Linked DNA regions of Homo sapiens: regions 1, 2 and 3 are each linked to region 4. The links are contacts of gene promoters, found by promoter capture Hi-C in human tissues and cell types (Jung and others, 2019). All regions are on one chromosome and are shown on one strand. Each heading gives the region's core, a stretch centred on a gene start or on the middle of the fragment in contact. The rest is flanking DNA. Distances are from core to core; before and after follow the strand shown.

What was found. Contacts are between HindIII fragments. The study calls those that stand out against the background at their distance.
Region 1: the fragment with the promoter of ZNF773 here is called in contact with the fragment with the promoter of ZNF274 in region 4 in 2 of the 25 tissues and cell types used here (liver and spleen).
Region 2: a contact is called between the fragment with the promoter of ZNF211 here and the fragment with the promoter of ZNF274 in region 4, in 7 of the 25 tissues and cell types used here (adrenal gland, liver, lymphoblastoid cells and 4 more).
Region 3: the fragment with the promoter of ZNF17 here is called in contact with the fragment with the promoter of ZNF274 in region 4 in 1 of the 25 tissues and cell types used here (lymphoblastoid cells).

The regions. Positions count from the first base shown.
Region 1 is chr19:57,495,638-57,501,459 of GRCh38, forward strand. ZNF773 (zinc finger protein 773) reads left to right here and starts at 4,301. Exons shown (of 4, transcript NM_198542.3): 1 at 4,301-4,476. The coding sequence starts at 4,444. It overlaps ZNF419 (zinc finger protein 419), which reads left to right. Exons shown (of 5, transcript NM_024691.4): 5 at 1-461. The HindIII fragment of the contact is 9,164 bases long and covers 1-5,822 here.
Region 2 is chr19:57,629,641-57,635,889 of GRCh38, forward strand. It overlaps ZNF211 (zinc finger protein 211), which reads left to right and starts at 3,528. Exons shown (of 4, transcript NM_006385.5): 1 at 3,528-3,796; 2 at 4,383-4,421; 3 at 4,989-5,115. The coding sequence starts at 3,707. RefSeq lists enhancers at 3,128-3,217, 3,288-3,337 and a silencer at 3,778-3,847. The HindIII fragment of the contact is 12,794 bases long and covers 1-4,535 here.
Region 3 is chr19:57,408,667-57,415,169 of GRCh38, forward strand. ZNF17 (zinc finger protein 17) reads left to right here and starts at 2,495. Exons shown (of 4, transcript NM_001330617.2): 1 at 2,495-2,740; 2 at 4,930-4,970. The coding sequence starts at 4,950. RefSeq lists enhancers at 2,499-2,608, 2,689-2,748 and a silencer at 2,992-3,194. The HindIII fragment of the contact is 3,744 bases long and covers 1,155-4,898 here.
Region 4 is chr19:58,177,735-58,184,516 of GRCh38, forward strand. ZNF274 (zinc finger protein 274) reads left to right here and starts at 5,327. Exons shown (of 8, transcript NM_133502.3): 1 at 5,327-5,708; 2 at 6,187-6,264. The coding sequence starts at 6,232. RefSeq lists enhancers at 4,938-5,651, 5,320-5,739, 5,652-6,363, 5,990-6,179. The HindIII fragment of the contact is 17,090 bases long and covers 1-6,782 here.

The DNA.
Region 1 (5,822 bases), core at 3,051-5,550, 680 kb before region 4:
ATGGTGTGAGCCCGGGAGGCGGAGCTTGCAGTGAGCCGAGATTGCGCCACTGCACTCCAGCCTGGGGCACAAAGCCAGACTCTGTCTCAAAAAAAAAAAAAAAAAAAAAAAAAAAAAAAAAAAAAAAAAAAAGCCTTATGTGAGTATGCTACTGTAATCTTATGAATCTTTTTAAATATCCAACTTCTGAAATATTTGTAGGTTTAACTACAAATAAATAATTCAATATATAGATAAATGTGTACATATTCCCTATCTTTACTGAGAGCCTAGCAAGCCATGGCATTCCAGTAGTTTTGAGCACATTTAATACCCAGTTATTGGTTTATATCATTTTTTAATAAAAGGAACCAGAACTCCTTAGAGAAGAGGCTGTTTTCAAGTTGTGGCAGAAAAGGTACAACATGATTTGAGGAAATACTGCATTGGAAAATAAATAAATGTTCACAGAATAATGTTGACATATTAGCTTTTTATTGCTATCCTGACAAATCACCACAAACTTATGGTTTAAACAACACAAATATAACAGAAGTCTCACTGGGTTAAAATCAAAGTGTTGGCATGATTATGTTCCTTTCTAGAGTCTCAGGGAGGATCTGTTTCTTGCTTATTTCAGTTGTTAGCATATTTAAGTTCTTCGTGGTTGTAGGACTGAGATTCCTTTTTCTTGATGGCATCAGCTGAGGGTCATTCCTAGGATATATAAGAACTTTTATGAAAAAGGAAGAAGTAATACCAATTGTATACAAACTTCCAAGAGGACAAAGGTTCAAAGAATTCTGGACTATATGAAAGTTAGCATTAACAGGACACTAAAGCAGGCAATGACATTAAACAAAACTATAGACCAATAATCACATGAATATAGACACAGAGCCTTAAGAAAATTTTAGCAAATTGAGGCACTCGTCCTTCAAATCACCCCCTTGGGTCTCTTCCAAGCATACTTGCCTTTCTTTCCTGTTCTAAAGCCTTTTTAAATAAACTTGCACTCATGCTAAAACAAAACAAAAAGACATTTAGCAAATTGAATCCAGCCATATACAAACAATAATAAATCATAACCTAGTGAGGTTTATCAATAATACAAGTTTGATTCAACAATTCAAACTCTTTATTAATCTATATTAGCAGACTAAAATGAAAATCTCAAAATGTAATAAAAGCATTTTACAAAATTCAAAACTAGGTTATGATACATGCAACAAATTAAACAAGATGGTGATTTCTTCAACCTGATACAGCACATCTATGAAAAACAGCTAACAGCACATTTGATATATATGTGATCAAATATTTGATAAGCTGATTTTCCCCAACATTAGGAATAACATAAATACGTCAACATTCATCACTTCTCATTAAAAAAAAAATCTAATGATTGTAAAGGCAGAACCCAAACTGTCTGTATTTACATATGACATGATAATGTTGAAAATTCGAAATTATCTACTAAAAAGCTACTAGATCTAATAATTGAGTTTAGCAAGGTCCTAAGATAAAAAGGCCAGTGTATAAAAAGTAGGTGTCTCTACTAGGTTGGTATATAGCTAGCAAATACATGCTTGGCAACTGAAAAAATGTACTTCACAATAGCATAAAAATATGAAATATTTAGAAATAAATTTAACAAAATATGTTCAAGAACTTTAAAACATTCCTGAGAGACATTAAACAAGGCATAAATAAATGACACAAGAAGTTCCTGAATCTGAGACTTAATACTTTGAAGTTGTCAGTTTTCCTTTAACTATCCTAATAAAAACCTAATCTTTTAAATAAAAATTTACAAATGTATTCTAAAAAGTTACATGGAAATACAAAGGGCCTGGACTAATTGCCAAAACAATTTTATAAATAAGAATAAGTTTGAAAATCTTTATGACTTTAGGACATACAAACGTACAGTAATTGAGAGTACAGTATTAGCTAAAGGACAGAGATGAACAGAAGAGAACAGAGAACCCAGAAATACACTCACACAACACTCTATTGTCAATCTCTTTTCAAGAAAGTTGCAAAAGTAGTAAAACAACTTCAGAAAACAGTGTAGCAGCTTTAAAGGTAGCATAAGCTTACCATATAGTTTAGGAATCTTACCTATTGGGATATCCCCAAGAGAACAAAAGCATATGTTCTAGAAATACTTACACTTGCATGCTCAGCAGTTTTATTTATAAAACCCAAACACCAGAATTTGTTTTTAAAACACACACACACAAACTAAAATTTCCGTGAACAGAAGAATGAATAATCAATTATGGTATATCTTAACATAAAATACCATTCAACAACATAAAAGAATAAACTATGAATACAAGTAAAAATATCATAGATAAATCTGAAAATCCCTGAGCCAAGTGGAAGAAGCCAGACACAAAAGTTGACATACAGTATGATTCCATTTATATGAAATGAAGAAGCTGCAAAACTAGAGTAAAAGAATGCAGATCACTGGTTATTGAGCCTGCGGTCTGAGGGGGAAGGTTCTGACTGAAAGAGTACAGGAAAACGTTATCAGGCAATGGTAATTTTCTCTATCATGACTGTGTTGGTGGTTTCATGACAGTACAGCTGACCCTTAAATAACACAGGTTTGAAATGCACAGGTCCAATTATATGTGAATGTTTTTCAATAAATATACTGGAAAAAATTTTTGAATATTTGAGACAATTTCAAAAAACCAGAATTCATTGAAATAGGTATGCCAAGAATGCATAACACAAAATATATGTAGGTTCTATTTTATCATTACAAAACCAGAGCGATATTTTCTTTTCTTTTTTTTTGTTTTTGAGACGGATTCTCTCCCTGTCGCCCAGGCTGGAGTGCAGTGGCATGAACTCCACTCACTGCAAGCTCCACCTCCCGGGTTCATGCCATTCTCCCGTCTCAGCCTCCCGAGTAGCTGGGACTACAGGCACCTGCTACCACACCCGGCTAATTTTTTGTATTTTTTAGTACAGACGGGGTTTCACCGTGTTAGCCAGGATAGTCTCGATCTCCTGACCTTGTGATCCACCCGCCTTGGCCTCCCAAAGTGCTGGGATTACAGGCGTAAGCCACCACCTCCCTACTCTTTCTACCCAATAAATATGAAGGTCTGTGGAAGCTCAGGGCCCTTCCTCACTAGAAGCAAGAAGCCCCCTGACCCCTTCTTTAAAACAGATTTATTTTGCCTTTGTTTTCATTTCTGCATTCGTTCCCCTTCGTTCAGTCCCATAGTAACTGTGACAGGAATATGGAGCAGAAATGGATGAAGGGGAGAAATTGAGGGGGAGTTGGCTTATGGGTTTGCTGCCTGTTGTTGTGCCTTTACACCAATGTTGGGTCCTTGAGGAAGGAAAGAACACAAATGAGAATGGGGTGAAAGAGGAACGTAAATCCTTGGGCTCCCCTACTCTCTCATCACCTACATCCAGAATTCAGAGCCTTTTCTTATTATCATACATCAGGCATTAATATTGGGTGTCCCCTTGCCAAAGGAAATTTAGGAAGGTATACGTGGCTTTGCCCAGTGAAACCTCTTTATGGTGGCCCTGAAGATCCTCTTCAAGTCCTTCAAAAGAAGGAAAGATTGGAGTATCAGCTGCAGGAAACTGAAATCCAGGCCCATCTCCAATTACAACAGGTTCCAGATGAGTCCGAGAGTTCTCGACACTCATTTCTCCTCCATCTCCTACTCCATCATCTCCATCTCCATCTTCTCCATCATCTCCATCTTCATCATCATCTCCATCTCCATCATCTCCATGTCCATCATCATCTCTATCTCCATCATCTCCATCTCCATCATCTCCATCTCCATCATCATCTCTATCTCCATCATCATCTCTATCTCCATCATCTCCATCTCCATCATCTCCATCATCTCCATCTCCATCTCCTACTCCATCATCTCCATCTCCATCTTCTCCATCATCTCCATCTTCTCCATCATCTCCATCTTCTCCATCATCTCCATCTTCATCATCTCCATTTCCATCATCTCCATCTCCATCATCATCTCTATCTCCATCATCTCCATCTCCATCATCTCCATCATCTCCATCTCCATCTCCATCTCCATCATCTACCGTCTCCAATCTCCATCTCCGAAGTTATGCCCACTTCCTCGAAGTTTGGAGCCACGCGAACTACACTGCCCAGAAGGCGCCGCGCCGTGAGCCGCGATGCTTGGCCAATGAAAAGAGGTCTACCCGAGAGTGCGACGCGCAATGGGCGGGACTTCCGGCGTCTCCCCTCGGCGGTTGCTTTCGCTGCCCTCAAGAGAACTCAGCTTGCCGGAAGCTGGTTGTTCGCTGCGGCGACCAGCTCCGGAAAGCGCGGTGGGGACGCGCTGTGTTCTCGCAGCTCAGAGGCGGGTCTGAGGCTCGGTGGCGGCGCCCAGGGTGGCCCGGGCCCTTTCCTCGGTCGTTGTCTCACCGCCACAGGCTCCGATGGCGGCGGCCACGCTGAGGGACCCCGCTCAGGTGAGCGCCGCGTCCTCCCGGCCTCCCCCGAATCCTAAAGCCCTGTGAGGGCCGCCTGCTCAGGTCCCCGGGTGCAGAACTGTGGGGCGTTCGTGGGCGGCGTCCCGTTTCTGACACGCAGTGTGATGGGGTGGCAATGGAGGGCAAGGGGCCCGGCTCGCAAAGATGTGAGGCGCATTCAGCGAGTCCCGAACCTGAGGCCTCCTGGTGTCTGTAGTGGGCAGCTTGGGAAGGGACGAGGCGCGTGTCGAGCGACAGCCCGAGCAGCTGCGCTTTCATCCTGAGGGGGCCACAGTGGCCGCGGAGGGCTGGAGACAGAAGAGTGACAAGATCTGTTTCTCAAAGTTTGCCAAAGGCCCTTCAAGTCAAAACAGACTGGGGTGGGGGTGAGGCGGGTGAAGACAGACCTGTGAGTAGGTAAATTCAGTAGACTAGTGGAGAGTCTACTGGGACTGGGCCACAGAGGAGGGGAAGTGATCAGATCTTGGATGGATTTCAAAAACTGAACAGACGGGAATTCCTGTTGCATCAGATGTGACTGTGAAAGAAAGTAGGGAATGAAGAGCCATTCTGGATTTTTATTTGTATTTTTGTTTGTTCCTGAATATCAGGAAGGATGGAGATGGGTAAGGCTGTGCAGGGAATAGGTTTTGGGCATGGTGATCCTGAGATGTCCCAGAGTGGAGGTGTCATGTCCACATGAGCAGCTGGAAGGCCTGGGGCTCGTATTTAGGAGGGAGAATCTTAAAGTTTTCTTTCAGATGGTCCCTGAGGTGAGGGAAGGGAGAGATGGGCCTGTAGGATGGGGCAGCCTCTACAGCCTGGAGTTTCGTGGTCCGAAGTGATTTTGTCTGGTGCCTGCAGGAATGGAGGGTTATAGAGTATGAACACCCAGGACTGGATGGAGACCGCAGTGTTGGGTAGTATATAGGTTTGCCACTCCAGGCTTAGTAGTTCCTCATGTCCAGTCCATATGGAGAAAAGGAAAGGTCAGCCAGGCTGGTGGAGCAGCACCTTTGGTGCCTAAGTTTCCCTAGCTATCAGCACAGGTGGGATGATCAACTGCTCCAGTAGAAGGGAGGGCTCTCAGCAGGATGGTCTTCAGGGGAGTATATAGCAGGCAGCCAGATTGCCAAAAGGAAACCCACATTGTCTTTCTTTTTCTTTCTTTTTTTTTTTTTTTTGAGACAGAATTCTGCTCTTGTGATCTGCCCACCTCGGCCTCCCAAAGTGTTGGGATTACAGGCTTGAGCCACTGCACCCAGGCAGAAACCCACATTTTGAAAACCTACCAGTTTATTTGCACTGAAAATGTTGACAGAAGCATTAATTATGTGTACAGTAAG
Region 2 (6,249 bases), core at 2,278-4,777, 550 kb before region 4:
AGCCTCCCGAACAGCTGGGACTACAGGTGCCTGCCACCATGCCCAGCTAATTTTTTTTTTTTTTTTTTTTTTTTGTATTTTTAGTAGAGACGGGGGTTTCACCGTGTTAGCCAGGATGGTCTCGATCTCCTGACCTCATGATCCGCCCACCTCGGCCTCCCAAAGTGCTGGGATTACAGACGTGAGCCACCACGCCTGGCGATATACTACAGTTTCTAATCCATTCACTTACTGAGGGACATTTTTGTTGCTTCCAAAGTATGCCAATTTTGGATAAAACTGCTATACACACACATGTACAGGTTTTTGTGTGGACATAAATTTTCCACTCATATGGATAAATTCTGAAAAATATGGTTACCGTATTGTATGGTAAAAGTGTGTTTAGTTTTGTAAGAAACCACCAAACTCCATTTCAAAGTGGCTGTACAACTTTGCATTCCCGTCAGCAATGAGAGCTCCTGTTGCTGTACATTTTCTCAACCATTTGCAGTTGTCAGTGTTACAGAGGTTGTTCATTCTAATAGATGTGTAGTGGTATCTCAGTGCTGTTTTAATTTTTACTTCCCTGATGACATATGATGGGGATTATCTTTTCATACACTTATTTGCCATCTGTGTATCTTCTCTGGTGAGGTATCTAAACCTAAAGTCTTTGCCCATTTCGTTTTTTAATTAAGATGTTTCTTTTTTTTCTTTTTTTTTTTTTTGAGACGGAGTCTCACACTGTCACTAGGCTGGAGTGTCGTGGCATGATCTCGGCTTACTGCAACCTCCACCTCCTGGGTTCAAGCGATTCTCCTGCCTCAGCCTCCCAAGTAGCTGGGACTACAGGCATGCGCCACCACGCCCAGGTAATTTTTGTATTTTTTAGTAGAGACAGGGTTTCACCATGTTGGCCAGGATGGTCTTGATCTCTTGACCTTGTGATCTGCCTGCCTCAGCCTCCCAAAGTGCTGGGATTACAGGCATGAGCCACCAAGCCCGGCCCTGAAAAATTTACACAATTATACAAAACTTACTTAACCTATGCTTCATTACCTCATGAGGAGTACTGGGAAGTTTTGAGTACGTGCAATGGATGGAAACATTGAATTTGGACATAAAGAGTTGTGTCCTTTTTTTTTTTTTTTTTTTGGAGTCTTGCTCTGTCACCCAGGCTGGAGTGCAGTGGTACGATCTCGACTCACTGCAACCTTCACTTCCCAGGTTCAAGTGATTCTGATTCTCCTGCCTCGGCCTCCCGAGTAACTGGGATTACAGGTGCCACCACCACGCCCGACTAATTTTGGAATTTTTAATGGAGACGGGGTTTCACCATGTTGGCCAGGCTGGTCTTGAACTCCTGACCTTAGGTGATTCGCCCACCTCGGCCTCCCAAGGTGGGAGCAGCAATCACACCTGCTGGGATTACAGGTGTGAGCCACTGTGCCCAGCCAGTTATGTCATTTTTCACTAGTTTCTCAGTTGATTACCTGAAAGTATGAATTTTTAAAGCACAATAGGATTCAGCAGTCTCAGGTAGGAAAAAGGTAACCTGGAAAGATCCCTGCATGTGAATGCACACACAGCTTTCAGGGATCTGAGGAAATTCAGCATGTGTAGGATATAGAGGAGATACATGGTAGGAGGTGAAGCAATATGTAATGGTTGGTTCTGTAATATAGGCCCAGCCAAGAACTCTAACCTTTTTCCTAAAAACAATGACAAGCCCATTGTGAGATCTAACCAGATGTACAATAGTAGTCATTCCACTTATAAATTTTTGTAGTAAATGTGTAAACAAATACATTATATATTTGATAAAATCATTTCACAACTTTTAATTTTATTTTATTTTACTGGTATTAATTTGTCCTAAAGGATCATTTTTATTGTGAAACGTAAAATTTGATCTATCTAATATATATAAAATGTATATGTGTACATTTAACAATGTGCATATATGTACCTTAAAATAATATAAACTTTCTGGGCGACGGAGTGAGGCCCTGTTTAAAATAATGATAATAATTTGATATTTTATGCATTAAAAACTTTTGTCTGGGCATGGTGACTCATGCTTGTAATCTCAGCAGTTTGGGAGGCTGAGGCAAGAAGATTGCATGGCCCTAGGAGTTTGAGACTAGCCTGGGCCCTATAGGGAGACTCCATTCCTACAATAATTTTTTTTTTAACTAGCCGGGTGTGGTGGTGTGCTTGTAGTGCCAGCTACTCAAGAGGCTGAGGTGGGAGGATCACTTGAGCCCAGGAAGTGGAGGCTGCAATGAGCTATGATTGTTCCACTGTACTCCAGCCTGGACAACAGAGTGAGACCCTGTCTCAAAAAAAAATTAAATGTTTTGATTATACAAGGAAAATGAACATTCATGTATTAAAGCTTCATGTTTTATGAACAAAACTGACTTTGCAGGCAGGAGAGCGTTTTCTGGGGGCACCAGAAGCAGGGAACTTCCCTTGTCCGTTGGCTTCAGGGCTGCCCACTATCCCTCCACTATCTTCCCATTGTAGCCCTGTCTGGTGTCTTTTGTCCCTGACAAAACCTACAAAAAGTGACTTTAACACTTCAGGCTGCATGCATTTGAAGAGCAATAAGATAACGTTTTTTCGCTTCCCACTACCAGTGGAGATCTGCTGGGGTGGGCTGCATGGAATCTGAAATGATGTCTAAATACTGAAGTGAACCTCTACACTAGAGACTGATATACAGCTGACCCTTAAACGACGCAGGGGTCAGGGATACCGACCCCTGCGGAATTGAAAATGCTTGTATTACTTTTGACTCCCCTAGGTCTTAACTACTAATAGCCAACTGTTGCCCGGAAGCCTTATGAAGTTGCCCGGAAGCCTTATGAATTACATAAACTCCCAGTCGATTAACACATTTTGTATGATATATGCATGATATATGCATAATATATATGATATATGCATTTTGTATGATATATGCATTATATATATTTTAGTATAAGAACTATACTTGTACTAAAACAGACCAGAGAAAGGGTATCAGGAAAATTGTAAGAGGCTCGTTGACATTACACCCAATTAAAAAAAGGAAAATAAAAGAATACGGAAGGGAAAATACATTTACTAATCATTAAGTGGAAGTGGATCATCATAAAGGTCTTCATCCTTGTGTTCTTCATGCTGGGCAAGAGAATGAGGTCTTGCTGTCTCTGGGGCAAGAGGTCGGGGAGCTGGAAGAGGCAGGAAAAGGAGCACACTCGAAGTAACGTTTATTGGGGAAAAAAAACGCCTACGTGTAAATGGACCCGCACAGCTCAAACCTGTGTTGTTCAAGTGTCAACCTACTTAAGACCTCAAACACCGAAGCCCCTCAGTCGCCCTGGAAGGCAGCAGACGCAGCTTCCTAGCGCTCCCAGCTGTCTGCACACAAGGCGCCCTCCGTCGCAGCCTGGGGGAGACTACATTACCCAGAAAGCCTTGCGTCGAGCGGCAGTACTTTGATCCAATGAAAATCCAAGACAGGGGCATTTCCGTGTGGGTCTACCCCCGCCCCCCCCAGGGCGGGACTTGTGGCGTCTTCGCAGCGGTCATTTTGGCTGCCCTCCCGGAGGTCCGTTCTGTCTGTCAGCCGCTTTGGTACGCTGCATCGGGATCGAAGTGACGGACCGTGAAGGCGCGAGAGTCAGGTCTGAGGGTCGGGGGCAGAGCCGCCCGCGAGGCCGGCCTGGGGATAGCGATGCTCGGGTTCCCCCCGGGTCGCCCGCAGCTCCCGGTCCAGCTCCGCCCACAGACTCGGATGGCGACCGCACTGAGGGACCCGGCTTCGGTGAGCGCTGCGATCTCCGGGCCTCCCCCGGCCGAGATTCTTAAGTCCCAAGTGAGAGGCACCAGCTCACGTCTCTGTAGCACAGGGTCGGGGACACTGAGGCTCGTGGGTGGGGCCCCTATTTCTGACATCCGATGTGGTGGGCAGGGGGACAAGGGACAGGACCGGCGCGTGCAGGGCTTGGACGGGCAACCGAGAAGGGGGCATTCAGGAACCTGGGCTCCACATTGTTACTGCAGGGAACAAAGTTTGAGAGAGATCTACCTTTATTCTTAGGGCCGTGGGAGCCATAGAGAGCTTGCGCAAACGAGAGACACCATCTGAGTTAAATTTGAAAAATCCTCTGCAGGCTGTTCAGTGGAAGAAAAGACTTTAGAGATGGATGAGGACGTTGAGGCAGAGGGAGGTTGAATATTTTTCCAAGGCCACACAACTGGTGAGAGGCAGCACTAAGGACCGAGGCGCACAGGTTAGACAGTCGACCCAAAGTTACGTGGCTCTGGGCCGGGGCAAGGGTACAGGGAAGGCCTGTGCCCATGGAGCACTGCCATGATCACATTCCTCTGAGGCCTGCGTCTTTCCACAGGTTCCCATAGCTACAGAGGTGCTTTTCAAACTTACACAGGTAAGTGGAGGTATCTCAGCCCCTCACTGGTCTGGAATGTCCCTCCACCCTCCCCAGACAGATATTTTCTTTAGATTTGTGGTGTCATGGGACTCACCTACCATTCTCTCAGCGTTTGGTTTGGGAACCCTGGAGAATCCCTGAGCTAAGGGCCCTGAGTCCAGGCCAATGTTTCCATTTGGAGCAGCCAATGGAAAGATGGGTGAAAATTTATGATAGAAACAGGTAGGTACCAGCTTTTGGAACTCCTTGGAGGTGAGGCTGAGCTGGTTCAGGGAACTGCAGGTTTCCTTTATTTCTGTGAAGTTTGGCATCTATTGTGAGGAAGTTGGAGTTTGGGATCAGAGGAGGGAGATTTATCTAACCCAAGTGTTGACAGGATACAGAGTGGAAAACAGAATGAACACAGTGACTAATGGGAATGTGAAGAGACAGCAGGGATCAATGACACCAAGGTCTGGTGTCTCTTCTGACTTGGGGATCTTGGGAGGAGAATGTATGGGGACATGGATTTTGAGTCTTCCAAATTGAGACTGTTCATGGTTTCATCAATCCCTATTATGCTAGGGAAGTGTGACCTTTGAAGATGTGGCCGTGTACTTCTCCTGGGAGGAATGGGATCTCCTTGATGAGGCTCAGAAACACCTGTACTTCGATGTGATGCTGGAGAACTTTGCACTTACGTCCTCCCTGGGTAAGGCCCTCATACTCACCCTTGTGCCCTGGACTAGGCTCTCTGTTTCTCCTTTTCCTCAGGAGCAGCTCTGTCCTCATATCTGGACTATAGGCACTGCCTCCTTCCCCAGTTCCCTGGGTAGATGTTGTGGACTGAGTGCAAGCCTACTTCCCTTATCGTCCCAGCCCAAAAGCATCTTGGGTAAGGATTTGGGATCAGTAGTCTTACAGTAAGCCTAATAGATCCCACCTGACTTGCCTTCTCCCTGTCTGGTGACTTTCTAGATCTATGGCACCCAGTTTTCCCTCCCTTCGTGTACCTAACATTTATTTGTGCTAGACTGTGACATGAAATGTAGTCACTGACATTGCCACTATTTACACAGACTGTTCTTCAACCACCAACCTTTCCATTAACAGCAGAACACTCTAACAAATTGTGCCGCAGAGACATTACACAGACTGTTCTTATAGAAACCTCCTTCAAGGTGTTTTTCTTTGTTTTTAATTGTAAAATATATATAACAAAATTTACCATTTTAATCATTTTCAAGTATATAGTTCAGCGCATTTAGTACATTCGCATTATTGTGCAACCATCACCACCATCCTTCTATAGTACTTTTTCATCTTATAAAACTGAAACTTTGTACTCATTAAATAATAACTCTTCCCATCCCCTGGCAACCACCATTTTACTTTTGGTCTGTATGAATTTGTCTACTGTAAGTACCTCATATGAGTGGGATCACACAATATTTGTTCTTTTCTATCTGGCTTACTTCACTTAGCATAATATCTTCAAGATTCATCCATGTTGTAATATATATCAGAATTGCTTCTTTTTAAGGCTGAATAATATTCTTTTGTATGTATTACAGTTTGTTTATCCATTCCTTCATCAGTGGACACAGGTTGTTTTCACCTTCTGGCTGTTGTGAATAATATTACTGTGAACATGGGTGTACAGATACGTATTTGTGTCCTTGCTTTCAATTCTTTTGGGTATTGGCCCAAAAGTAGAATTTCTGGATCATAAGGTAATTATTTTTAATTTTTAAGGAACCACTAAAATTGTTTTTCATAGCAGCTGCACCATTTTACATTCCCACAAGCAGCTGACAAAGGTTCCAGTTTCTTCACACCCTCACCA
Region 3 (6,503 bases), core at 1,245-3,744, 770 kb before region 4:
CTTTGGGAGGCCAAGCCGGGTGGATCATGAGGTCAGGAGTTCAAGACCAGCCTGGCCAACATGGTGAAACCCTGTCTCTACTAAAAATACAAAAATTAGCCAGGTGTGGTGGTGCACACCTGTAGTCCCAGCTACTCGGGAGCTGAGGCAGGAGAATTGCTTGAACCCAGGAGGCAGAGGTTGCAGTGAGCTGAGATCGTGTGACTGCACTCCAGCCTGGGCAACAGAGCGAGACTCTCTCTCTCTCCCTCTCTCCATATATATATATATATATACATACACATACACAAAGATATGTGGCCTGTCACCAAGTGTTAGATGGATGTTTGGGCCAGGCGAGGTGGCTCATGCCTGTAATCCCAGCACTTTGGGAGGCTGAGGCGGGTGGATCACCTGAGGCCAGGAGTTCAAGACCAGCCTGGCCAACATGGTGAAACCCCGTCTCTACTAAAAGTACAAAAATCAGCCAGGCGTGGTGGCCATGCCTGTAATCCCAGCTACTCAGGAGGCTGAGGCAGGAGAATCGCCTGAACCTGGGAGGCAGAGGTTGCCGTGAGCCGAGATCGTGCCATTGCACTCCAGCCTGGGCGACAGAGAGAGACTCTATCTCAAAAAAAGAAAAAAAAAGTTTGTTTAGTTTCTGTTGGTAAATATCTAGAAATAGAATTGTAGGATGGTAGGGATGTATTGTTGGTAAATGATTAACATGTTTTTAATTTTCAGTTTTTTCAGAGACGGGGATCTCACTATATTGCCCAAACTGGTTTTGAACTTATGAACTCAAGTAATCCTCCCGTCTTAACTTCCATGTAGCTGGCACTACTGAACAGCTTTAACTCTTCCAGACCTTCAGTTGGGTGGTTTTTTCTTTTCCTTTCGTTTCCTTCTTTCTCTCTCCTTCCTTCCTTCTTTTTGTAATTTGATAAACCAAATTTCAAGACTTTGGCCAAAAAACAGTCTTCTCCTTTACTGAATATCTCAGTGCTCCATTTTATTTTTCCCTCACCAATTCTGCAGGAGAGATCACAAGACTATGTCCATATCTTTATTTGTGGGGGTATGATTTTCAGCTAACATAGCTGCTAAGTGATTTAATTTACAATTATAGTGGTAGAAAAATAGCTCTAACTTCTGAGGTTTTGTAATTTATTGTAAAAAGCGGAATACAGGACATTTAAAGTGACCTGACAAGGTCAATACAGGACTGAGGACTAATTCATTAAATACGTCTTACGTGTCTTAGAGGACCACAGACAGCTAGCAACCCTACTCCTAATGTGTCCCATGCACTTAGTATTGTACCTGGCATCGAATGAGTGTTCATCAAATATGTTAGAGTAATAAATACGACAGCACAGTTTCCCTATTCAGCTTTACTTTTCTGGTAACTCTTTTAATATATAGTCTTTACCTCTCCCTTCAAGCTGTTAATGCACAATGTTTTCAAGTTTGAAAAAGAATCAGATTTTGGACACCAAACTTGAGTGTGTCCAAGGTTCCAGGACAACCTTAGCTTTTTTCCTCCTATCACAAATATGTTTCTCTATAACTATTTTTGCCACTTTCTTTGGATATCTACATAATCGTCATTAATAGTTTCAGTAATAGCCATTTCACAAGAGTTATTCAGAGACAATTTCAACTCCCTGTGCAGACACTGTTGATACAATTTCAGGCGAAATGATAAATCACTTTCCACTAATGAGATGAGATCATGCATTCCCAAACCTTTATCTCAGGAGTAAGATGCTTTCTTTGCACAAGGGCTTTGACTGGTGGAAGGCCACACTATTCTGGCAGATAATGGTAGATAAGTCGCTTTTCCTTTTCAGTTAGGTTTCAGTCTCTTAAAATAAGTGGAAAATATCTCAGATATAAAGTAATAAGTATCATGTGAATAAAGTGTTGCTGGGTAGGCTGAAAGACAATAACTGATTATTCAGAAAGGAAAGATATTACTCCTCAAACTCCCCATCATGCCATGTCTGGGTCTTTTCAATGTGCCCAGCAGAGCACATTGAAGATCATAAAACAGTCTCCAGAGCTTCGTTCTGTGTGTATTTGGCAAGCACAAAAGAGCTGACCGCTATGCGTGGAAGACCAGTTCTTTATGGTTGGCCATGTTCCTTCGGATGTTCGTCTTTTGGGAACTTGCTGTGCTTTACAGAATCTGAAAGGACAGGTCTCTGAAACATTTCTCTGACTTGTTCTAGACTGCCTTCCGGGAAAATCTGGATGCTTGCCGTTTAAAAGCCAATGAAGCCCCTCCACGTCCTTGGAGCCCCGCAACTGCATTTCTCAAAGCCTCAGGAGGATCCTCCTGGCTTTCATCCTGAACGCGAGTTAACTTAAGTTCAGAAGCGGGGCAGGCAGTGGCCTGGGAACTACATTACCCAAAAGACACAGCGGCGGACACAAGCAGCGAGTGTAGCCAATGAAGGCCTAGCAGAGCGGCGTCTACGGGGGTTCGCAATGCGTGTGGGCGGGACTTCCTGCAACGCCTCCTGGGGTTGTCAATATGGCTGCGTTGGGATCTGTTCACCTTCAGGCTGAGTCGAGACTGAGGTGAAAAAGCGGAAAAACGCGAGAAAAGGTTTCCCCGTTGTACAGAGGCTAGAGTGAGGCTCGGTTGAATCGGTTGCAGGCGTTGGTGCCTCTGTCAGCGTCCAGGTCACTGCCGCTCCCGCCCCGCTCTTCCCTGGCTGTGCTGGCGGAGGCTGCGCCGATGAACCTGACTGAGGTGGGTGCCGCGTCCCAGGGCGCCCCGCCCGATCCCTCCTCCGAGTGCCGAAGCCCCGAGGAGGGGCCCTGCAGGTCAGGCCCCTGTGTCCCAAAGAGAGGAGCGTTCTTGTGTGGGGTACCGGTGTCCGCGGTGCTGTGAGGCGGGGGAGCTCCTGTCAGGGACCTGCACGTGCGAGGCTTAGAGGTGCTGCAGAGCGGGCGGCACTGGGGAGCCCGAGCGTCTTTGTCTCCACGGAGCTGAGGGTGAGGCGGAGTCTCGCCTGGGAGGGCAGCGGAGCTGCTGAAAGCCGTAGAAGGCTGTGCAGGAAGGGTTATGCCCAGAGGTAGACGTTTAAAGTTGGGAAAAACAGGATGTTAAACCAGGACAAGGGGACCGCTGAGGAGACCCCTTGAGTTATGGTAGGGATGGGCCAGAGGGGTTGCAGTAGAGGGGAAGTGTGATGAGATTCTGGATGGATCTCAGAGATAGAGTCGACAGGATTTCCTGCTGCATCAAATGTAGCAGTGAGGGTAGTGAAGGGTCTATTCCATGGATTTTGTTTTGGCCTGAAAATCTGAAAGAATGGAGTTGGAGAAGTCAGCTTAGGGAGCAGGTTTCAGAGAGGATTATGAGTTGCATTTTGGAGGGCTGAGTTTTGGAGGGCAGATCATGGGTGGGTCCATAAGCCTGACGCTACCTTTAGAAAGGCGCAGACCTGTCATAGGAGGGATTCTGGCTCATATCTGCAAAAACGGAGTTCTGAATGGGTTAAGGAACTGGCCTAGGCTGGAGACTGAGGTGTGAGGTGGTTTAGATTTCTGCACCTGCAGACCCAGCAGCCCCCCAGGCCCACTCTGTGGAACAATAGGAAGGTCATCCAGACTAGTGGGGACATTGGGTCCAGACGGGGGTAGGGCTTTCTCACATCTAGTCAAGGGCCTCCAGCAAGCTTCCAGCAACTGAATTTGTAGCAGGCAGGCCTGGTTGCTGATGGGACCAGTAACTGACCTGCTTGCTTATCCCCTCCCTGCAACTTATTTATTTATGAATGTGTAAAACATTTTTTTTTTTTTTGAGACAGAGTCTCGCTCCATCGCCCAGGTTGGAGTGCAGTGGCGCGATCTCGGCTCACTGCAAGCTCCGCCTCCCGAGTTCAAGCAATTCTCCTGCCTCAGCCTCCCGAGTAGCTGGGACTACAAGTGCCCGCCACCACGCCAGGCTAATTTTTTGCATTTTTAGTAGAGACGGGGTTTCACCGTGTTAGCTAGTATGGTCTCTATCTCCTGACCTCATGATCTGCACGCCTCAGCCTCCCAAAGTGCTGGGATTACAGGCATGAGCCACCGCGCCCGGCCGAATGTATAAAACATTTATTTAACCACTAATGAACCAGTATCCTTCTAAATATGTACACATAGGTCGGCAGTTAGAAATGAATGTAACCAATAGTTAAATTTATTCACTTAATAATTGTTGAATGTTGATTTTTCTTTTTTCTTTTTTTTTTTGAGACGGAGTCTCGCTCTGTCGCCAGGCTGGAGTGCAGTGGCGTGGTCTCGGCTCACTGCAACCTCTGCCTCCCGGGTTCAAGCGATTCTCCTACCTCAGCCTCCCGAGTAGCTGGGATTACAGACATGCGCCACCATGCCCATCTAATTTTTGTATTTTTGATAGAGACAGGGTTTCACCATGGTTGGCCAGGATGGTCTTGATCTCTGCACCTCGTGATCCGCCCACCTCGGCCTCCCAAAGTGCTGGGATTAGAGGCTTGAGCCACCATGCCCGGCTGAATGTTAATTTTTCTATTTGCTTGCAATGGAAAGTTTTATGTATCACATTTCCTTAACACCGTAAGAAGTGGGAAAAATACACACCCAAAATTTCAAAACCCTTCCATGTCATTTGTACCGAAAACATGTAAAAAATATTTAATCCAGTAGAAAGAAATTGCTGATACATAGTGTGTACTACTTATATTTGATGCCCATATAAGCCCTATTAGTTGGCAATCCTTTTAATCTCTATTTTACACATAAGGGCACCGAGACTTAAGGAAGTTCAGTCCTCATCAAGACACTGAACCCTGAGGACTTACTGTGTACCCTCAGATAACTTTGCTCTAGTTGCAGGGCCAGAGGTGGTTGTACAGTCAGCCTGTAGGATGCTGCAATGCTGTCTTAATCCTCATGGCCTGCCTCTTCCCACAGGGTTCATAGCAGTGGCAGCAATGCTTATGGATGCTGGACAGGTGAGTGGAGAGTGTTTCCAGCTTTCACCCATCCCAGATGGTTTCAGCATGCTGATATAGGGAATGGTGTTATCCTGAGACTGTTCACCTTTTCTTCTCTCTCCCTTGGGTCCAAGGAGAGCCTGTAGTTCCACCAGACCTGGGTTCCAAACTCAGTGCCTGGTTATATAGAGTGGTTCTAGTTCTCACAACTGATGGTTTGAGATTTGGCAAGGCATCTCAAACACAGGATCTAGAATGTTCAAATGCTTGGTGGTGAGACTTAGATGGGATGCTTAGAGAACTGTAGCTTAATGTTCTAGCTGGCAAGGATAAGGAGCACAGCAGCAGGGCAGGAGGTCGGGGCATGCAGGGATCAGGCATGGAATGGCAGCCTGAGGTTGTCTAGGTTTTTGTTTTTGTTTTGTTTTGTTTTTGAGACAGAATCTTGCTCTGTCTCCAGGCTGGAGTGCAGTGGCGCGATCTCAGCTCACTACAACCTCCGCCTTCCTGGTTCAAGCGATTCTCCTGCCCCGGCCTCCCGAGTAGCTGGGATTATAGGCACCCGCCACCATGCCCGGCTAATTTTTGTATTTTTTAGTAGAGATGGGGTTTCACCATGTTGGCCAGGATGTTCTCAATCTCTTGACCTCGTGATCTGCCTGCCTCGGCCCTCCCAAGGTGCTGGGATTACAGGCTTGAGCCACCACACCTGGCCTTGTTTTTTTTTTTTTTTCCAGACAGAGGCTAACTCTGTCGCCCAGGCGGGAGTGCATTGATGTGATCTCGGATCATTGCGACCTCTGTCTCCCAGGTTCAAGCAATTCTCCTGCCTCAGCCTTCCAAGTAGCTGGGATTACAGGCATGAACCAACACACCCAGCTAATTTTTGTATTTTTAGTAGAGACAGGATTTCACCATGTTGGCCAGGCTGGTCTCGAACTCCTGGCCTCAAGTGATCTGCCTGCCTCAGCCTCCCAAAGTGCTGGGATTACAGGTATGAGCCACCGTGCCCAGTGGTTCTAGGTCTTTAATCTGAGGGGGGTAGTAGCTAGGGAAGGTTTGAGAAAGAAAAAAGAGGTGATTTGACCTAGATTCTTTTTTTTTTTTTTTGAGACGGAGTCTCCCTCTGTCGCCCAGGCCAGAGTGCAGTGGCGTGAACTCGGCTCACTGCAAGCTTCGCTTCCTGGGTTCACGCCATTCTCCTGCCTCAGCCTCCCAAGTAGCTGGGATTACAGGCACCTGCCATCATGCCCGGCTAACTTTTTTTTGTATTTTTTAGTAGAGCCAGGGTTTCACCGTGTTAGGATGGTCTCGATCTCCTGACCTCATGATCTGCCCGCCTCAGCCTCCCAAAGTGCTGGAATTACAGGCCTGAGCCACTGCACCCAGCCAGATTTGACCTAGATTCTAAGAGGCTTCCTCTGCCTGCAGAATGGAGGACAGAGTGAGAGTTAGGGAAGAACCAAGGATACCTGGGTGATAATTCCTGCCACAGTCCAGTGGAGGTTGGTGGTGGCTGGACACGAGTGGCGGCTGTGGAGGTGGGAGGGG
Region 4 (6,782 bases), core at 4,077-6,576:
GCCTCTTGTGTAGCTAAGACTACAGGAGTGTGTCACCACATCCAGCTACATTTTTTGCTTTAATACAGATGAGGTTTTGCTACGTTGCTCAGGCTGGTCTTGAACTCCTGAGCTCAAGTGACCCTCCCGCCTTGGCCTCCCAAAGTGCTGGGATTATAGGTATGAGCCTGGCCTCATACTTTATTTGTAGTAACAAGAATATCTGGAAAATGTTCAGCATTGCTGAGAGCAGATTTCTGTCATTTTCGATGTGTGTATCCTCCACGGTTATTGAATGGAGGAATAAACAAGAAAAAGACTCAAGAAGAGAGACAGGAGTCAGTTCTCATCAGAGAAGAAAAGGTCGATTTCCTAAGGCAGGAAATATTGAGATGGGTTGTGTTCAGGACTAGCAGGAGGTGTGTGGCTGGCTTGTTCCTTGTCTACATCCTAATGGCCTAAAGAAAAGATGCCCCACACTAAGGACAGCAAGAGGGAAAGAGTGAGCCTCATCCTCCGTGACTTCAGTGGGCAGCTTAACCAGCACCAGAAAAGACCTATACTTGCAGATTTTCTTTGTGGGAAAACGGCGTTGGTTATTTGGGTTTTTATTTATTTCCAACCAAACATGCCTTAACGGATACAGGGTGCAAAGGCATGTACTAGATTATTCCAAACCTGCCTCACTGGTTTGTCCGGCATTCTGTGGACTTCCTGCATTCCTCTTTGAGGCAGGCCGTTTTCTGGAGGTTGTTTGTGATCGGCCTCTGCTCAGAGCCCAAATTCTTAGCCTTTCCCCCATGTGTTATGTCCAGTGTGGATTATCTTGATGGTGAGTTTACCTTTGATGTTGGGGAAAACAGGCAAAGAATGAATGAGCAGCAGTAACCAAAGAGCCTCTTTTCTGGGAAAAAAGCTATGATATTAATAATTTATAGTTCAAATGCACATTAATTTATCCATACTTCTGTAACCTTACATTCCCAAGCTCTCAGAAGTTCAGAGAGGTGTCCTCAAAGCTCACATTTCAAAGATGGAAAGACACATCTTTCTTCTTTTTAAAAATGATTTTAAAATGTATCCCCCTTTACATGGAACAATTTGAGATGCTCTGTGTGATGAAACAGAGACAGAGAATGATGAGTGGAGATCAAATCCTGGGTCCATGATTCAGTTGCACAGCTGGCTTAGGACTCAGTTGAACACCACTAGCTGCCATAATGGTCCAGCTGCCATAATGGTTTGGGCCAACTTATAGCTTTACATATTTTATTCTTAGTCATATGTTGTTTATTTATTATTTATTTATTCATTTATTTATTTTGAGATGGAGTCTCGCTGTGTCACCCAGGCTGGAAGGCAGTGGCACAAACTCGGCTCACTGAAAGCTCCACCTCCTGGGATCATGCCATTCTCCTGTCTCAGCCTCCCGAGTAGCGGGGACTACAGGCGCCCGCCACCATGCTCGGCTAATTTTTGTATTTTTAGTAGAGACGGGGTTTCACCATGTTAGCCAGGATGGTCTCGATCTCCTGACCTCATGATCTGCCCACCTTGGCCTCCCAAAGTGCTGGGATTACAGGCGTGAGCCACTGCGCCCGGCCATATGTTGTTTAATTTAAACCAACAGTAGACCATTGATTTAAAAAAGCATATGGGGCCAGGGGCAGTGGCTCACTCCTGTAATCCCAGCACTTTGGGAGGCCAAAATGGGCAGATCACCTGAGGTCAGAAGTTCGAAACTAGCCTGACCAACATGGTGAAACCCTGTCTCTACTAAAAATATAAAAATTAGCTGGGCGTCGTGGCATCTGCCTGTAATCTCAGCTATTAGGGAGAATGACGCAGGAGAACCGCTAGAACCCGGGAGGCAGAGGCGGAGGTTGCAGTGCCATTGCACTCCAGCCTGGGCAACAAGAGCAAAACTCCATCTCAAAAAAAAAAAGCACATGGAAAAATATTAATATATTTAAATAACTCAGTATCTCAATAAACCTATGCCTGACTATGTGGAATATATATATATTTGAGATGGAGCCCCCTTTAGTAGAGACGGGGTTTCACCATGTTGGCCAGGTTGGTCTCGAACTCCTGACCTCAGGTGATCCACCCACCTCAGCCTCCCAAAGTGCTGGGATTACAGGTGTGAGCCACCGCACCTGGCCCTATGCAGACTATATTAAGAGAGAAAAAGTAAAAATTAAACTTTGCAATTGAATGAAATAACTACTATTTCTACAACACACATTTTCACTTATGATCCATAATGCCTTCTATGTAATTCAAAATTCCAGATATTTTCTAACAGAAAATTTCTCCCTGTTATGAGTCTGCAAAATTTATATGAACAAGGCTATTTATATTTTGTCTCTCTTCCACCTAGTGTAAATCTTCTTGTATTTTGCTACAGATATACTCATGTGTTTGATGGCAGGTGCTACCCCACACCTCTTAGGGATTTACACACTGTATGGTGTAAATACATTACCATCCTACTAAAATCCAAATGATCATGAATTCCAAAATACATCTGGCTCAGAAGGTTTTGAACAAGCAATCGAGGCACTGTCTAAATCCAACAACGATGAATAAATTTTTTCAACATTTTACATGTTTAATAGTTAACATTTCTTCAGAAGTCATTTTTATTTTACAAATTACAATAAACAGCATATTTAATTTGCTAAACAGGAAAAGAGTATGCAGTTATTAAAAGTTGAATTAAAATGGCTCTCATAAATCAATCTTCAATAATATGCTTATATAAAACCATCTTTAGGTTGGGCACAGTGGCTCAAGCCTGTAATCCCAGCACTTTGCGGGGCCGAGGTGGGCGGATCCTCTGAGGTCAGGAGTTCGAGACCAGCCTGGCCAACATGGCAAATCCCCATCTCTACTAAAAATACAAAAATTAGCCGGGCATGGTGGCACGCCCGGCTACTCAGGAGGCTGAGGCAGGGAGAATCACTTGAACCCGGGAGGCAGAGGTTGCAGTTGAGCCGAAATCACGCCATTGCACTCCAGCCTGAGCGAAAGAGCGAGACTCTGTCTCAAAACAAAAAAAAAAAAACAAAACATCTTTGGTCAGGCATGGTGGCTCACGCCTGCAATCCCAGCACTTTGGGAGGCCAAGGCGGGAGGATTGCTTGAGTCCAGGAGTTCAAGACCAGCCCTGACAACACACTGAGACCTCATCTCTACACAAATATTTATTAAAAATTAGCCAGGTGTGGTGATGCACACCAGTAGTCAGTCCTAGCTACTTGGAAAGCTGAGATGGGAGGAACACTTGAGCCCAGGAGGTTGGGCCAGCAGTAAGCCATGACTGCAGCACTGCTCTCCAGCCTGGGCAACAGAACAAGACCCTGTCTCAAAAACAAATTCTTTTAATCAAAAATCAGGTTTTATCCTATACCACATAAATAGAAAGAAATCATTAGAAGAATTTCCACCTGCCTGGGCAACATAGTGAGGTTTCTGTCTCTACAAAAAAGTACAAAAGAGGCCAGGCGGGGTGGCTCATGCCTATAATCTCAGCACTTTGGGAGGCTGAGGTGGGCAGACTGCCTGAGGTCAGGAGTTCGAGACCAGGCTGGCTAACATGGAGAAACCCCGTCTCTACTACAAATACAAAAATTAGCCAGGCATGGTGGCACACACCTGTAGTCCAAGCTACTTGGGCAGCTGAGGCAGGAAAATCGCTTGAACCCAGGAAGCAGAGGTTGCAGTGAGCCGAGATTGTGCCACCTCACTCCAGCCTGGGCGACAGAGCAAGACTCTGTCTCCAAAAAAAAAAAAGCCAGGTGTGGTGGTGTGCACCTGTCCCAGCTATTTGAGAGGCTAAGGTGGGCGGATCACTTGGGCCCAGGAGGTGGAGGCTGCAGTAAGCTGTGATCGCACCAATGCATTCCAGTCGGGGTGACAGAGCAAGACCCTGTCTCAAGAAAAAAAAAAAGAAAGAAAAAAAAGAATTTCCAAGGGGGTTTGCTTCCTTGTGATTATGAAGGGCTAGACGTATCCTATTCAAATCCAGAACAAAACAAGACTATTAGTAAACATGACTACTTAACATAGCTCTGTCATACTAGCTAGGACTATACAATGTTAATTTTTTAAAGTTGAAATATGGAAAAAGAAGATATCAAATTACTTATTAATTGGGGATGGTGTTGTATCTATAATAGACACGAAAAATCCAATGAAATATTATTAGACTATAAGATATCTGCACAGTCTCTGAGTAAATACTCCTATGCCAAAATCAACACACTAACAGCAACAATTAAACAATGTGTAGCCTGAGGTTGGATCCTCCACAGTGACCAAAAAAACCAACAACCCGTGGAACAAGTTTAGCAGGCAGTGTACACGACCACCAGAGGGAGGCAGAGGGCTGCTGAGACCTGCCAGGAAATATCAAGAAAGAGGACACAGGGTCCTGAGCACTGAGAGAGATCATTAGGGCCCTCAGGTCCCAAGAAGACAAGACCATACTGGGACCTGGGACCTAAGGAAGATAAGAAAACACCAGATGTCGGTCCTTGAGGAAGCCAAGAGAATACCTCCTTGTCCTGAGCTCCCAAGGAAGATGAGAGCACCCTGGGCCCAAGGATGGGTGGCACACACCAGGTCCTGGACAGCTACAGACTTAGGTTTCCTCTCCCTAGACATGAGCACCTCAGCTTCCAGGAGCAAACTGGACCACAGGGGGACACTAGGCAGAGGATCCTGCTCCTCCTCCCCAATGCCTGGGGTACAGTTAGCCCTGATCATCTCTCCAGAACTAGGGTAGACGTTTGGCCTCATTCCCATCACACTTGTGGTCCACCTAGTCTTCCCTCCTTCCCCTTGCACACCCCTGACCTTCCTACTCCCTTCCTCTAATCCCCAGAACTAGGGTGGACGTTTGGCCACGTTCCCATCACACTTCCGGTCCTCCGAGTTTCCCTCCCCTCCCTGACCTTGAGTGGACACTTGGCCCTGTCCACCCTCACTTTCAGGCAGGACCCATCTCCCAGAAACATAAGTGCCGTCAGTCCCAACTCCTGCACACTTCCGGCTCTCCCAGTCCTCCCCTTCTTTCTCGACTTTGAAACTGGTGGAACTTCAGTACCTCTCCCCACTCCCCCCGCGACTTCCGTCTTCCAGTCCCCCTCCTTCCCCAAAAGTTGCGTGGACTCTAGCCCCGCCTCCTACATTCTCCCCGCCCTCCCTGTCCCCGCCCCTCCACCCAGATGGACGGCCAGTTAGGCCCGCCCCCTGCACTTCCGGCCCTACCCGCCCTTCCTCTTCCCAAGGGACGTCATAATTAATCCCGCCCCCACCGCCACCCAACCAAGCATCACCCATTCCAGCACTTCCGGCCTGACCCCTGTCCAGCGCCTTTCCTTTCTCCAGCTTCTGCTCTGCCCCAAGAGTGGTCGCCTTCGTGGCAGGGCACGACTCTCTCCCAGCTCGGGTCGCCGCCCACATTAGTGTGGGGCCCTGCGGCCTAGCGTCCCTCACCAGAGGCCTCCCCTTGCCTAGCTGGACCGCCGAGGGACATCGACGAGTATCCTCCTCCTGCTGTCCCCGGCTTCGCCTGCCGCCCCTAACCGGCCAGTCAAGATGGCCGCCGCTGGGTGAGGCAAGCTGGCGCGCCGCGGGGGCGTCTGGGAGTTGTAGTTCGGGACGGCGGGCTGACGCACTTCGCCGCCGGCCGACGGGCGCCATTGTGCGGCGCGCGCCGGGTGAGTGCCGCGCGAAACCTGCGTCCGTCGGGGGCTGCGCTGGGCGGGTCCAGAACCGTTAGTTGGGGGCGAGCGCGGCCTCTGCATTTTCCGCCGAGCTCGGGTACCCTGAGCCGGCCGTGCCTGCAGTCCTCCCGCCGCTCTGTGGGATGGGGTCGGTGACCCGGAACCCCGAGGGGAGACAGTGCTTTCGGGGCGCCGCGGTGGAGAGAACAGATCGCCTCCGGAAGCGTGGGGTCTGGGCCAGGGAGGCGATCCCCTCCGATGCGCGGGACAGAGGAGGCTCGGTGTCCTCTCGGGGAGGGGAAAACTGGTCCTATCCAGTCCTGTGGGAGTCCTATGACTCACTCTGGGCGTTTTCCAGTTTGGGTGGACTTGTCATTTCCCGCTGAGGGAGCCGTTCCTGGGCGGAGGCTGCGGTAGCTCCCCAGCGGACACCTTAAGCCTCTCCCTCCCCTCCCAACTTCGGTTTCCTCAGGACTCTGCCCACTTCCACCAGAGACACATTGAGAAGGAGGAAACTATGGCCTCCAGGCTTCCGACGGCCTGGTCCTGTGTGAGTAGAGGCTTCCTTCAGCTTTTGAGTCCGCTACTGCACCTGGGAGGATGCGGATGGTGGTGAGATACCACCTTCCCTGAGATACCCCCATCCTCCAGAGCACCTCGGGGAGGGGGTAGAGATTGGTTGGGCATGAGAGATCCTGCGTGATGGTGGAACCGCAGGTTGCTTGGTTTTCCAAGGGTGTAGTTAGAATAGAGACCAGATTGTAGGGGCTTCTGAAGGCCAGGTTAAGGCTCTTGCTTGTATCCTTTATATTGGGAAGAGTAATTGACAGGTCTTTTGTTTGTTTGTTTTTTGTTTTTTGAGATGGAGTCTCCCTCTGTCGCCCAGGCTGGAGTGCAGTGGCGCGATCTTGGCTCACTGCAACCTCCGCCTCCTGGGTTCAAGTGATTCTCCTGCCTCAGCCTCCCCGAGTAGCTGGGACTACAGGCGTGTGCCACCATACCCAGCTAATTTTTTTTTTATTTTTATTTTTTGTGTGTGTTTTTTGTGGAGACGGGGTTTCACCATGT